Regions from separate parts of the Homo sapiens genome. Here all the other regions are linked to region 1. The links are contacts of gene promoters, found by promoter capture Hi-C in human tissues and cell types (Jung and others, 2019). All regions are on one chromosome and are shown on one strand. The core of a region is centred on a gene start or on the middle of the fragment in contact, and the rest is flanking DNA. Distances in the headings are between cores, read along the strand shown. Region 1 holds the start of CTXN1 (cortexin 1). Region 2 overlaps FBN3 (fibrillin 3). Region 3 overlaps FBN3 (fibrillin 3).

Evidence for each region. Contacts are between HindIII fragments. The study calls those that stand out against the background at their distance.
Region 2: a contact is called between a fragment that was not itself captured here and the fragment with the promoter of CTXN1 in region 1, in 2 of the 25 tissues and cell types used here (adrenal gland and mesendoderm cells).
Region 3: a fragment that was not itself captured here is called in contact with the fragment with the promoter of CTXN1 in region 1 in 1 of the 25 tissues and cell types used here (bladder).

What each region holds. Positions count from the first base shown.
Region 1 is chr19:7,923,167-7,927,537 of GRCh38, reverse strand. It overlaps CTXN1 (cortexin 1), which reads left to right and starts at 1,403. Exons shown (of 2, transcript NM_206833.4): 1 at 1,403-1,571; 2 at 1,980-3,047. The coding sequence starts at 2,000. The coding sequence ends at 2,248. It overlaps TIMM44 (translocase of inner mitochondrial membrane 44), which reads left to right. Exons shown (of 13, transcript NM_006351.4): 13 at 232-820. The coding sequence ends at 351. LOC124904629 (a long non-coding RNA gene) reads right to left here and starts at 2,133. Exons shown (of 2, transcript XR_007067120.1): 1 at 1,702-2,133; 2 at 728-965. SNAPC2 (small nuclear RNA activating complex polypeptide 2) reads right to left here. Exons shown (of 5, transcript NM_003083.4): 5 at 4,288-4,371. RefSeq lists an enhancer at 1-722 and silencers at 1,219-1,488, 2,019-2,108. The HindIII fragment of the contact is 9,564 bases long and covers 1-4,371 here.
Region 2 is chr19:8,106,235-8,110,605 of GRCh38, reverse strand. It overlaps FBN3 (fibrillin 3), which reads left to right. Exons shown (of 64, transcript NM_032447.5): 35 at 853-975; 36 at 1,218-1,379; 37 at 2,368-2,436. Among named protein-coding and RNA genes, the nearest start is that of FBN3, 41 kb to the left of the region's middle. The HindIII fragment of the contact is 6,298 bases long and covers 1-4,371 here.
Region 3 is chr19:8,072,255-8,076,625 of GRCh38, reverse strand. It overlaps FBN3 (fibrillin 3), which reads left to right. Exons shown (of 64, transcript NM_032447.5): 60 at 1,215-1,343; 61 at 1,436-1,555; 62 at 3,329-3,563. Among named protein-coding and RNA genes, the nearest start is that of CCL25, 22 kb to the right of the region's middle. The HindIII fragment of the contact is 4,880 bases long and covers 1-4,371 here.

The DNA.
Region 1 (4,371 bases), core at 154-2,653:
TGGAGAAACCTCTGGGCCAGAGTTTGGGGTTGAGGGAGGTCGGAGACCAGCAGACCTGTCTGTTTTTACCAAGGCTGAGTGGTTCCTGAGTCTAGGCAATTGTGCTGGCCTCTGCTCCCAGCCCCTGGGGAAGTTGCCGGTGGCTCCTGCCCCACAGAGCCTGGCCCCCCCCCAGAGCTGCCTGGGTCACCTCAACCCTCTCAACAGTGCCCTTCCCACCCCACCCTGCAGGACAAGGTGCTGCGGATGCTGTACGTGTGGGCGCTCTGCCGAGACCAGGACGAGCTCAACCCCTACGCGGCCTGGCGGCTCCTGGACATCTCGGCCTCCAGCACCGAGCAGATTCTCTGAGTGTGGTGCCGGAGCCAGGTAGCCCCGGCCTGGGTCATCAGGCACAGAGGCACCGCAACACCACCTGCGGCAACTCCAGACCTCTGGGAACAAGACTGCGGGCTCTGCCCCCAGCTCTGCCAGGACGGCTGCAAGACCAGCTGGCCCGGGAGGGGACAACGGGCTGTTGCGGGTGCGCGGCAGCTGGAGACACTCCCCCGCAGGGCCAACCCCTGCCCTGTTGCTCTGCCCTGCAGGGGTCCCGGCGCCTGGTCACCTGGGGTGCACACAGGTCACACAGTGCCAAGAGGCCCCAGGGCCCAGGGACTCCCCCCACAGCAGGGTGGGACCCGGGACCCGCGGCTCAGTGGCCCGCTAGCCACGTCAGCCAAGCCACTTTAGGTCCATTTTTTAATTTTAACAGTGCTCTTCCATCTTGTGCATAAGCCTGAGATTTGGAAAGAATAAAACACCGAATTGCAGAAGAGCAGCTACGGAGTCTGAAGTGTCTTCTCTGGCGCGGGAGTGGCCGAGGCGATGGTGGGGGTGGGAGCAGGCGGCTGCTGTGGGAGGCGGTCAAGGTCGAGTGAGGAACTGCAGCCGCAGTGGGTGGACGCCTTGCCCAGGGCTGGACCCTGAGTTGGAAGACGAGGCCAGTGACAGACAAAACTAGGGGGACTTACTCATCCCAGTGACCTGCCTGAGCTCTCTGAGAATTGAGGTCCCCAGGGCCGGGGGAGCTTGAGTGCCCATATGAGTGTTTTAGGGCCACTGAGGTCCCCCCACAAACAGGGAGTCTCGAGTGGGGTCTATCGCGGAGGAGAATGCAGGCACAGGGCAGGCTGGGGGGCCCGAAGTGCCAGGGGAGGTGGGAGTGGCAGCTGCCCACTCCCCGGCGAGGTCGTGGGTGCTCGCGGGTCCTCGGGGCTGGGGTTCCGTCCTCCCGCAGGCCCGGGCGGGGTCGCTGGCTCGCGCGCCGCTCCCTGCGCAGCCTCCGCCCCCTGCAGCCCCGCCCCCCGCGGCGGCCCCGCCCCCGTCGCCATAGGAACAGCCGCGGCGGCCCGGCTCGCGCGCTGCTTGCCTGCCTCGGTCTCCGCCGCTCCAGGGGCGGGTGGGGTGGGCTGAGCCGGAGCCCGGGCCGCCGCCGCCGCCGCCGGGGAGAGGCCGAACGCGCAGCCGGCGCGGGTCCCTGAGAGAGCGCGGCCGCCGGGCGGTCGGTCCCCGTCCGGGTCGAAGCCAGGGTGAGGGGCGCGCCGGGGCGGGGGCGGTGGGGGAGGGGGTCCCAGGCCGCCGAGAACAAAGGGAGCGGGGGCAGGGGCCGCGGGGACCGTCCCCACGCCGCGCGCCCGGGCCGCGGCCGCGCTTTCGCACCTGTTGTGTGCGGCCCAGGCCGGGCGCGGCTCCGTTTCCCGGCTCTCAGCGCCCCCACCTGCGCGCACGGCCAGAGTTGGGTCCCCGCGTGGTGGTGGCGGCGATCCGGCGGGCCGGGCATGGGCGTAGCCCGGGGACCGAGGCGCGGGCGGGGGATGGGGTCGGGCACGTTAAGGGAGGCGGCGGCGGCGGCGGCAGGAGGGGGCGAAGCGGAGGAGGCGCGGGAGGGAGGGCGCAGCCTCATCCCCGGCGCCCGGGGCGGGTCCCCTCCTCCGCAGGGCGCGCGGCGATGTGAGCCATGAGCGCGACGTGGACGCTGTCGCCGGAGCCCCTGCCGCCGTCGACGGGGCCCCCGGTGGGCGCGGGCCTGGACGCGGAGCAGCGCACGGTGTTCGCCTTCGTGCTCTGCCTGCTCGTGGTGCTGGTGCTGTTGATGGTGCGCTGCGTGCGCATCCTGCTCGACCCCTACAGCCGCATGCCCGCCTCGTCCTGGACCGACCACAAGGAGGCGCTCGAGCGCGGGCAGTTCGACTACGCGTTGGTGTGAGGGGCGCGGCGCCCCCTAGCCGGCCCTGCGCCGGGGTCTCAGAGGGCCGGCCCGGCGGGGGGCGCCGCGGGGCCAGGACTGCGCTCAGGATCCCGCCCCGGAGCCCCCAGCCCGGGGGAGAGGGGGAGGGAGTTGGGAGAAGCCCAGCCCCTCCCCCTCGAGACCCCTCCCATGTCCCTTCCTGGCCTGGCCGGAGCCCCACCTCGTGCCTTTATCCGCCCTGTCCCTTCCTCTCTGCGCATCTCACCCGCCCGGCTGGCCCCCACCCCCGACTCTGAATCCCGGGCGGGAGGAGGACCCCCGCACCGCCCCCTCCCCAGCGTGTAAGTGGCTCTGCTATTGTGCGTCCCTGGAAGTGGGGACCCCCTTGTCCCTCCTCCCTCCCCTGTTGTCTGGCCGTCGTCAACCCCACCTTGACTGAGTGTTGAGCCCGTCCTTGGGCTCTGGTCCCTGCGGGGCAGGCTCTCCCGGGCCCACGGGGCGGACGCTGCATACCAATTTGCCCTGCACCGCCTGTCCCGGAGACGGAGCCCGAAGGCCTGCCATGGCGGCTGTGTCGAGGATGCGTGGCGCCTGCCGTGGCGGGACAGCGTGGGCAGGCTCATTTCTGCCCCCAACCCGGGCCCCAGGACAGGTCAGCGCGCCCTGCCCCGGTGCCCACCGCTGCCCCCCATCCGCCCTCCTGCCACTTGCCCCTGACCCCCCTGCCGTGCCTCCCGCAGCCCTCCCATGCCGTTCCACTCCTCCCTGCCTCTGAGCCGAACATGATAATAAAAGCTATTATTGAGCGCTTACTGCATGCCAAGTAGCGTGCTGAGTTGGCACCTCCTGTTTATAGCCTGTCTCCTCTTCGGGATCGTGAGAATGAGCCAGGCCCTGTTAGCATCCCTATTCTACAGGCCAGGAGACCGAGGGCCAGGCAGCTCCAGTGACTGACTTGCCCACAGTCACATGGCTAGAGTCTGGTAGGGCTGGAAGTGGAACCCAGGTCTGGCTTTTGCATGTTTTTAAAGCTTCCCAGGGCTGCAAAGACACCAAGATCACAAGCACCTTTCACCGGCTTTGGGGGGGGGGGCTGATGTGTAACCCCCAGCTGCCTCCCCTCCACACACAATTCTGTTGATCTGGGGAGGCGCCGGGGGTGGTGAGAGAGACTCAGCCCTGTGGGGAACTGGGAGGCGCACCCTCTGCCAGCCCTGGAGGGAGGCTCCGACGACCGACCGTACCTGCAGCCTAAGCCTCCTCCCCCTGCCCACCACCATTGGCAGCGTTTGTGGGTCTGGTGCGGTGGGGCGGTGACCACGGACGGAGTGGGCTGGCTGTGCTCCAAGGCCCTCCCAAGAGATGTGCACCCCAGGGGAGCCGTGTGCAGTGTGTGGGGGGAGGAATGAGCGTTTCTATAAAAGGCAGGCTGGGTGAATGCACAGGCTCCGAGAACGGAGAATTTACCGACTTGGATTACTAGCTGGGCGTGGGACGCGGTGCCGTGGGAGGACATCTGCTTCCCTCTCTAGGACCCGACCCTCGGTCCACACCCACAGGGCAGGTGAAGCTGATGGAGGGGGCCTCAAGCGGGGTCCCAGCACCCCCAGGGGTTTGGGGTCAGCCCTGACTCCAGTACCCCTCCCTCCCCGCCTTCTAGGGATCCTTGAGGTCCCAAAGCCACCCCAGGGGACACTCCACTCCCACTAGCCTCCTGCCACTCGGGGCAGCCCACCCCTATCTATCTTCCTCTAACCGCCCAGCCTGGGGCTCAACTCCTTCCACCGGGTCACCCCCACTCTCTGCTGCCTTCTCCCCTCCACCTGTGCGATGTGATTTTGCCCTACTCTGAAACCCATCCCTGACGCCTGTCCCCAAGGTGCCCTGCCGGCTCTCCCCATCCACACTTGTCAGCTTCACAGTCACCAAGGGGCTCCTCACCCCAGGCCTCATCACACCAGTCAGGTGGCAGCTCTCCTCCCTGGCACACACCCCCAGCCCTGTGACCCCCAAGCTCTGACACTTCAGGGCCCCCACTTCCATCTTTAAGTCACAGGTGAAAGAGAAAGAGAATGATAACTTTATTCATGGTCACAGAATACCCCCGGGAAGGGGAAGGACCTGGCAGCAGGGAGTAACCA
Region 2 (4,371 bases), core at 952-3,451, 180 kb before region 1:
TGTGTGTTTTAGAAATGGGCAGGTGGTAAATATTTTTGGCTTTGCAGGCCACACAGTCAGTCTCTGTCACAATGATTCAACTCTGCCATTGTAGCTCAAAAGCAGCCACAAGCAATATGTAAATGAATGAATGTGGCCCCTGTACCAATAAAACTTTATTGACACAAACAGGTGGTGGACCGGATTTGACCTACAGGTTGGAATTTGCTAACCCATGGTTTGAAAGTATTTTCTATATATGGGTTTTGGCTGGGAGTGGTGGCTCATGCCCATAATCTCAGCACTTTGGGAGGCTGAGGTGGGAGGATCACTCCAGGCCAGGAGTTGGAGACCAGCCTGAGCAACATAGCGAGACCTCATCTCTAAAAAGTAAAAATAAAAAATTAGCTGGGCATTGTGGTGCACACCTGTAGTCCCAGCTACTCCAAAGGCTGAGGCAGAAGGATCGCTTGAGCCCAGGAGTTTGAGGCTGCAGTGAGCCGTGATTGTGCAACTGCACTCCAGCCTGGTCGACACAGCAAGACCCTGTCTCTAAACATCAATAAATTACGGAAATAAAATAGATATGATTTTCATATGTTGACTGCATGGAACCCAGGGCAGGTAGAGTTCAATGAACAAAACTCTGCCAGGCAGAACAGAGCAGGAGAGGGAATGGGGTTGGAGGGGACAGGACAGACTGGAGGCTCCTGTCCCCTTAGGTTTCTTCCCAGGGAAGGACATGACATTGTCCCACAATCTGGTGCCCAGGAGTTGACCTTGAGCGAGGGCTGTAGCTTCCCAGGATGAAGCTAGGAGGGAGGGGGGCCGAGGAAGGGGCTCCCTGCTGAGGACCGCGCTTCCTCCCTACAGACATCAACGAGTGTGCAGACCCAGTAAACTGCATCAACGGCGTGTGCATTAACACCCCCGGCAGCTACCTCTGCAGCTGCCCCCAGGATTTTGAGCTGAACCCCAGCGGAGTGGGCTGCGTGGGTGAGTCCATGCTCAACTCCAGATCAGGGTTCTGGGGTCAGCAGAGGTGGGTGGGATTGCCCCACTGGGTTAACTCAGATGTCAACGTGTTCAAATCTACCTGCTCCTGACAAACGGGACATCTGCTGGTCTCCTGCAAGAGTGGTTGTCCTTGTCACCTGTTGAAATAGACACATGCATGCACACGCACACATACAGCTTTCCCTCTGACACCTACTAACCATCCCCTTCTGCCTGTTCAGACACTCGGGCCGGGAACTGTTTCCTGGAGACGCATGACCGAGGGGACAGTGGCATTTCCTGCAGTGCCGAGATCGGAGTTGGTGTCACCCGAGCTTCCTGCTGTTGCTCCCTGGGCCGGGCTTGGGGCAATCCCTGTGAGCTGTGCCCTATGGCCAACACCAGTGAGTCCCTGCGGGGCAGTTGAACACCGTGACCTAAGCCACCGAGGCCCGGGAGCTTAGGGGGTCACCTCTGCTAATGGCGGTGGTGGGGGGCTTAGGCGACAGGAAAACCAAGAACTGGGGGAGGAGAGGGGCTCATCCTGGGTCACACAGTGTACGTCTTGGTAGTTCATTGGCTGGGCCTCTCTCCAAGGTCGCTTTCTGTAAATTCTCTGTGTTTATAGTCACTTGATCACTCAGTCAGTCAACAAATATTGAGAGTTCCTCTGTGTCATGTGCTGGGGACTGGGGACTCAGAGAAGGATGAGCCACAGCCTCTGCACGCTGCTTCTCCCTCACCCTTAAATCAACAGTTTCAGGACTGTGAGAGTAGAACTGTCCTAAGGGTTTTCTTTGAGGCATACCCATAGCTCAGGAGAAAGCTGTGGGGAAGTGAAAGCTCTGGGGAAGGCTTTCCAGGGGAGGAGGCTTGAGTGAGGTTTTGAAGGATGTGTAGGAGTTTTCCTAGCAGAGTAGGGGGAATGATGTGCAATGCAGTGAGAACAGTATGTGCAAAGGCCTCAGGTGTGAAACAGGGAGGTACCTGTCCACCTATTCAGGTGTATGCGTGTGTGAATGTCCAAGGTCTTCCTTGCATGGGGAAAACTTGCAGTTACACTAGGATATGGTTTTGGATCAGAAGGAATAATCTTCTCTCCCTCCTACCCCCAGCCACTACCACATAACTCTGCTCACATGTTGAATGGGAACCCACATTTACACACACACACGCATGCACACGCACATGCACACACACACGCAAGCAGCCCCAGGACTGGCCAAAGTCTCTTGGCCCCAAGAGGCTAAAGAGATATGGGGATGTCGTTAGTACAGTAGAAGGATGGGAGCCCACTCTTGAGCCCTTTTCAGGCTTCCTGCTGTTGCTCCCCTGTTTCCCCTAAGCTTTGCCCCAATACCCCACCTCACAGGAGCCTGTTTCCCTTTACAGCTGAGTACAGAACCCTGTGCCCGGGTGGTGAGGGCTTCCAGCCTAACCGCATCACTGTCATTCTGGAAGGTGAGTTCCTGGCAGATCATCCATCCATCTGTCTGCCTAGAGACTGACTTTTCTCTCATCCCCACCTCACCAAAGTGTAGAGTTGAGTAGTTTTGTCCTGGGATGGGGCAGATCTTTCCACCTGGAGGCTGAGCAGCAGGACCACACTATGCTTTTAGTTTGTGTTTAATTTTTTTTATCTGTTCTTTCAGCCATTTCTTCCACTTGTTGGTTTATTGATCTTTTCATTTGTCCCCCATCCTTCCATTCATCCTCCATCCTTCTGTCCATTTATCCTTCCATCCACCCATCCTTCCATCCATTCATCCATCCTTCTACCCATCCATCCAGCCATTCATCCATCTATCCATCCATCCATCCATCCTTCCATTTTTTCCATCCATCCAGTACATCCATACATCCTTCCATCCAGCCATCCTCCATCCATTCTTCCTTCCATACTTCCATACTTCCATTCAACCATCCTCCATCTACCCATTCATCCATCCTCCACTCATCCCTCTCTTATCCTTTTATCCATCCATCTAGTCAACCATTCATTCCCCATCCTTCATCTATCCCCCATCTTTCTGTCCATTCATCCCTCCATCCATCCATCCATCCATCCATCCTTCCACCCGACCATCCATCCATTCATCCATCCTTCCACTCATCCTTCCATCCATTCATCCATCCATCCATCCATCCATCCATCCTTCCACTCGACCATCCATCCATTCATCTATCCTTCCACTCATCCTTTCATCCATTCATCCTTCCACCCATCCAACCATTCTCCATCTACCCATTCATCCATCCCCCCACTTATTCCCCTCCTATCCTTCTATCCATCCATTCACCCATTTATCCCCCATCCTTCATCTATCCTCCATCCTTTCATCCATCCCCCCTCCTTCTGTCCATTTATCCTTCCATCCACCCATCCTTCCATCCATCCATCCTTCCACCCAACCATCCCCCATCTACCCATTCATCTATCCTTCCTTCCATCCAACTATCCTTTATCTACCCATTCATCCATCCTTCCATTCATCCATCCTTCCATCCATCCCTCCATCCTTCCATCCAACCATGCCCCATCCACCCATTCATCCATTCATCACTCATCCCTCTGCTATCCTTGTATCCATCCATTCACCCATCCATCCACCCCCCATCCTTCATCTAGCCCGCATTCACCCATCCATTAACCTATTTCCCACTCTCCCATCCATCCATCTCCCACCCACCTATCTCTCATTCTTCTATCCATCTATTCACCCATCCATCTATCCCCCATTCACCCATCCATCCTCAATACATCCATCCATCCACTCATCCATCCACCCATTTCCCATCCACCCGTTCCCTACTCCCTTTCTATTCCCCCATTCATCCACCCTTCCATCCATCTTCTATCTCCCATCTATTCATCCATTCATCCATCCATCCATCCATCCACTTATCCACCCATTCACTCATTTGCCTGTCTACTCACCTATCCATCCACCTTCCTATCCATCCACTCACTCATCATCTTATTCATTGACCCACTTGCTTATTTACCCATCCACTGTTTCATATCCATGCATCCATCCACTCATCCATCCATTCATCCATCCTCCCATCCATCCTTTCTATAGGGAGTGACAAGGTTGGAGAAGACTATTCTCCATCTAGAGGAAGAAAACTATCTATTTCTCTATCTAGAGGAAACTATGTGGTGGATGGGAGAATGGACTAACAGATGAAGGGAATGGAGTTGAATTTAGGGTAACATTAACTCAAGAGAATCTGTGTCCAGCCATCAAGATAGACCCTTTAAATGTCTATCAGTCATGGACAGCACTTGGGGATCCTCGAGAGGGCCCTGGAGAACCCAGAGCATGGTGTGGGTGCCCCTTAAGTCCTCTGCATGGGTTTAGCTCCCAAGCTTGGCTTCCTTACTTCCTGACA
Region 3 (4,371 bases), core at 931-3,430, 150 kb before region 1:
TGTCAGTCACCCAGACTGGAGTGCAGTGGAACAATCTTGGCTCATCGCAACCTCCGCCTCCCGGGTTCAAGCGATTCTTCTGCCTCAGCCTCCCGAGTAGCTGGGACTACAGGCGTGTACCACCACACCTGGCTAAATTGTTTTGTATTTTTAGTAGAGATGGGGCTTCACCATGTTGGTCAGGCTGATCTCGAACTCCTGACTTCAGGTGATCCGGAGGCTCCCTAGGCCTCCCAAAGCACTGGGATTACAGGCATGAGCCACTGTACCCAGCCCCCAAGAATAGTAAGAATATTTAAAGACATAGAAAGATGATCACAGACTATTCAGTTTAAAACAATAGCTTACACACACACACACACACACACACACACACACGCACACGGACAACCCATACACTGGTTGGCTTAAACTACAGAGATTTATTTTTTTTTCCATTCTGGAAGCTGGGCAGTTCAAGATCAAGGTGGCAGCACGGCTGGTTCTGTGAGGGCTCTCTTCTTGGTTTGCAGACAGCCACCTTTTTGCTGTGTCCTCACTTGGCAGAGACAGAGCAAGCTTTCTGGTGTCTCTTATAAGGGCACTATTCTCATCATAAAAGCCCTACCCTCATGACCTTATCTAACCCTGATCACCTCCCAAAGACCTAATATCCAAATACCAGCCCACTGGGGGTTAGGGCTTCAACATAGGATTTTGGAGAGACACGAACATTCAATCCATGGCACCGGCTGACCTCACACTATTGTCAGGTTTCCATGGGAACAAAACTCAACAGGCAACCCTATGTCATTTTTCCATGGGAGAAGGAAAAGAGGCTTTGTTTATCTTTTACTCTTTTACCGGGCACTGCCCTAAGCCTTTTACATGATTAGGTTAATTTAATTCTCGCATGCACACAAAAATGCAATGAGGTAGACATTATCATCTCCATATACAGCTGAGGACATCGAGGCACAGAGAGGGTAGGTAAGTTGCCCAAGGACACACAGCTTCGAGGCGGTGGAGATGAGATTCTTTATGTGCAGGATCTCAAACATTGGTGCCTATTCTGAGTCAGGAACTGTTACAGATCTCATTTCACAGAGTGGGAAACAGGCACAGAGAGGGTGAGCAACTTGCCTGAAGCCACACAGTGGTGGGACTGGCATTGTGTCACCTGACACGAGTTCCTTAACCAGCAGGCAACCCTGCCTGATCTCTCTCCTCTGCAGACAATGATGAGTGCTCAGCCCAGCCTGGCCCATGTGGTGCCCACGGGCACTGCCACAACACCCCGGGCAGCTTCCGCTGTGAATGCCACCAAGGCTTCACCCTGGTCAGCTCAGGCCATGGCTGTGAAGGTACAGCCCAGCTTTGGCTGGGGTCTAGTGTTTGGGGGTGTTGGTCCTGAGAGCCGTCTGGTAAACCCTCTCTCCCTCTCTCTATGTCTCAGATGTGAATGAATGTGATGGGCCCCACCGCTGCCAGCATGGCTGTCAGAACCAGCTAGGGGGCTACCGCTGCAGCTGCCCCCAGGGTTTCACCCAGCACTCCCAGTGGGCCCAGTGTGTGGGTGAGTGAAAAGGGCTGGGAAGAAGCTGGGCCCTCCACCAGAATCTGCTCAGAGCAGGCGACTAACAGACGCCACCCTGCAAGATGATGTGACAAGCACAATTATCTAAAGATTGAACAGGCCAGCCCAGAAGGTAGTGAGTTCCCCACTGCTGGGGAGTCAAGGTGCAGCAGAATAAGCATCAAAAAGTGTCTGAGTTCATTCCTTAGGGCATGGTGGCCTGGAGGACTCAGTTGAGAAAGATTCTGAGACCTGAAGTCTGCAATTTTGTGATCACAGGGAAAGAGTGCTGTGATTGATTAGTGATGTCTGCCACGAGTGTGATTAGTGATGTCTGCTATGGATGCTGCAAGGGGCAATGGAGGTGTGCATGCTATGTCATTGCCATAGCTGTTGCAGAGGCCCTCCATTTGGGGGGCTAGCCTTCTGCCCCCCAACCTTCCCCCATCTTCTGGCTGCTCTAGGACCTCCTAGCAGCCTCTTTCACTGCTCTTTTCATTCCTCCACTGCAGTGCAGCTTTCACCCTCTACCATTTTCAGGCCCACTTGCTCTCTCCTGAGACCTCTCCTCGGCCTCCATCCTCTACCTCCACTGCTCTGGGCACCACAGTCTGCCCCTTCAGGCTCCTGGACACTCTCTCCTGTGGCCTTTGTGATGTGGCTATCCCTGCTCTCCCACTGCCTCACAGGCACTGCCTTCTCTGCCCCCTCCTTTTGTCTGTCATGGTGGGTCTTTAGCTAAGTTCTTCTTGGGCTTCCCACACCACACGACCCCACCCCCCAGGCAAGCTGCTTGTCCCCTGGGGATCTTGGGGATCCCACAGACCATTGGCCTTTGCTGGCAACTCTTCCTCAACTTGTTTCCTCCCCCCGTACTGACTCATTCATTCTTTCCCCAACTGTTTGCCAAGGACCTGCCTTTCACTAGGCCCTGAGCTCAGATGCAGAAGTGAGCTGAAAAACCATTTCTGCCTTGAGTTTTTCAGTCCAGCAAAGGAAACAGAGATTAATTAGACCCCTAACTAGGTTCTCAACAGAGGACCATTTTACCCCCATAGTACATTTTGAAGTGTCTGCGAGACATTTTTGATCATCACAATTGGGATCCGCCATGGTAGTTCACTCTTGTGGGATATTGAGGTAGGGGGATCATTTGAGGCCAGGAGTTCAAGACCAGCCTAGGCAACATAGCAAGACCCCCCATCTCTACAAAAAGTTAAAAGATTAGCCAGGCATGTTGGTGCACACCTGTAGTCCCAGCTACTCAGGAGGCTGAGGCAGGAGGATCCCTTGAGCCCAGGACGTCAAGGCTGCAGTGCACTATGGTTGCACCACTGCACTCCAGCCTGGGCAACAGAGTGAGACTCCCAACTCCAAACAGACAATTGGAGGCGGATAGGTTTTCCTGGTGTCAAGCGGGTGGAAGCCAGGGATGCTGTTCAATGTCCCACAGTGCAAGGAGGCCTCCTCCCTAGAGAATGATCTGGCCCCAAGTGTCAATAGCACTGAGGGTGAGAAAGCTTGTTCTAGATCATCCCACATTTTGGGGTTTAGGGGAAGTGTTGAGAGATGTTGTGAAGGAGAACCACAGGGTTTGGGGCAGCGGGGCTATGGGGCCGATCTAGTCTCAGGGCTCACTGCCAGCTTGCTGAAGAGTTTGGCATTGGACTTGGGCTCTGAACATACAGCATTCCAGGTGGAGGGCTCTGGGGGTGTGAAGGCTGCACTGCCCCACCTCTGCGTCCTCCCTCTCCTCCTCCTTTCCTCCCACAGATGAGAATGAGTGTGCCCTGTCGCCCCCCACCTGCGGGAGCGCCTCCTGTCGCAACACTCTTGGTGGCTTCCGCTGCGTCTGCCCCTCTGGCTTTGACTTTGATCAGGCCCTCGGGGGCTGCCAGGAGGTGGATGAGTGCGCCGGACGGCGTGGCCCCTGTAGCTACAGCTGTGCCAACACGCCTGGTGGCTTCCTGTGCGGCTGTCCTCAAGGCTACTTCCGGGCTGGGCAAGGGTGAGAGGCTGGAGTGGGGCAAGCAGACTCCATGCCCCGCAAGCGTCCATGCACGCACGCACACACACACACACACACACACACACACACACACACGGGGCTTTGTGCATGCCAAGAATTTACCAGAAGAGCTCCTTCAGCCTGTGCATGCAGGCATTTGCCCACATATGCACAGAGTCCTGGACACGCAGAGGTACAGTGGCACCTGTATCTATTCACACACATCCTCACAGCACTCACATGTAGTTGTCCACATGGCACACACCCGTACCAGCATGCGTGGGCACCCTTGTGCATTTACAGATCCCAGCATGCACACGTGTGTGTGTGTGTGTGTGTGTGCACGCGCGCATGTCCCAGTGTGCACTCAGGCTCATGCATGCCCACATCCCTGGGGGCACAGTGCCATTGCTACATCCTGGTTTGCACAGGTGAGGAAGCACGCGTCAGCCATCTGTGAGTGCTCACACTATACACACATCCCCAGGCACACTCAGGGAGATTCACACATTCCTACGAGCACACATGTGCCTGCATGAGTTATTCCCCATGTGAACACACAGGTTGGCACACGCACATGCCCCTGGGTATGCTCATGTCCATTCATCCATCCCAGCCTGTGCACGTCCTCTCACTCCTGTGTTCACACCTATGCCCAAATGAACCAAGGGACACACATGCACACCCTTATGTGGTGCACACACACTCGTGCACACGGAGCCACACCAGCACATGCTCAGAGGCATTTGTGTGCGTGGGCATTTGCAGCATGACTCAGAACGGAGTATGGGGTGGAGCGGCGTGGCTG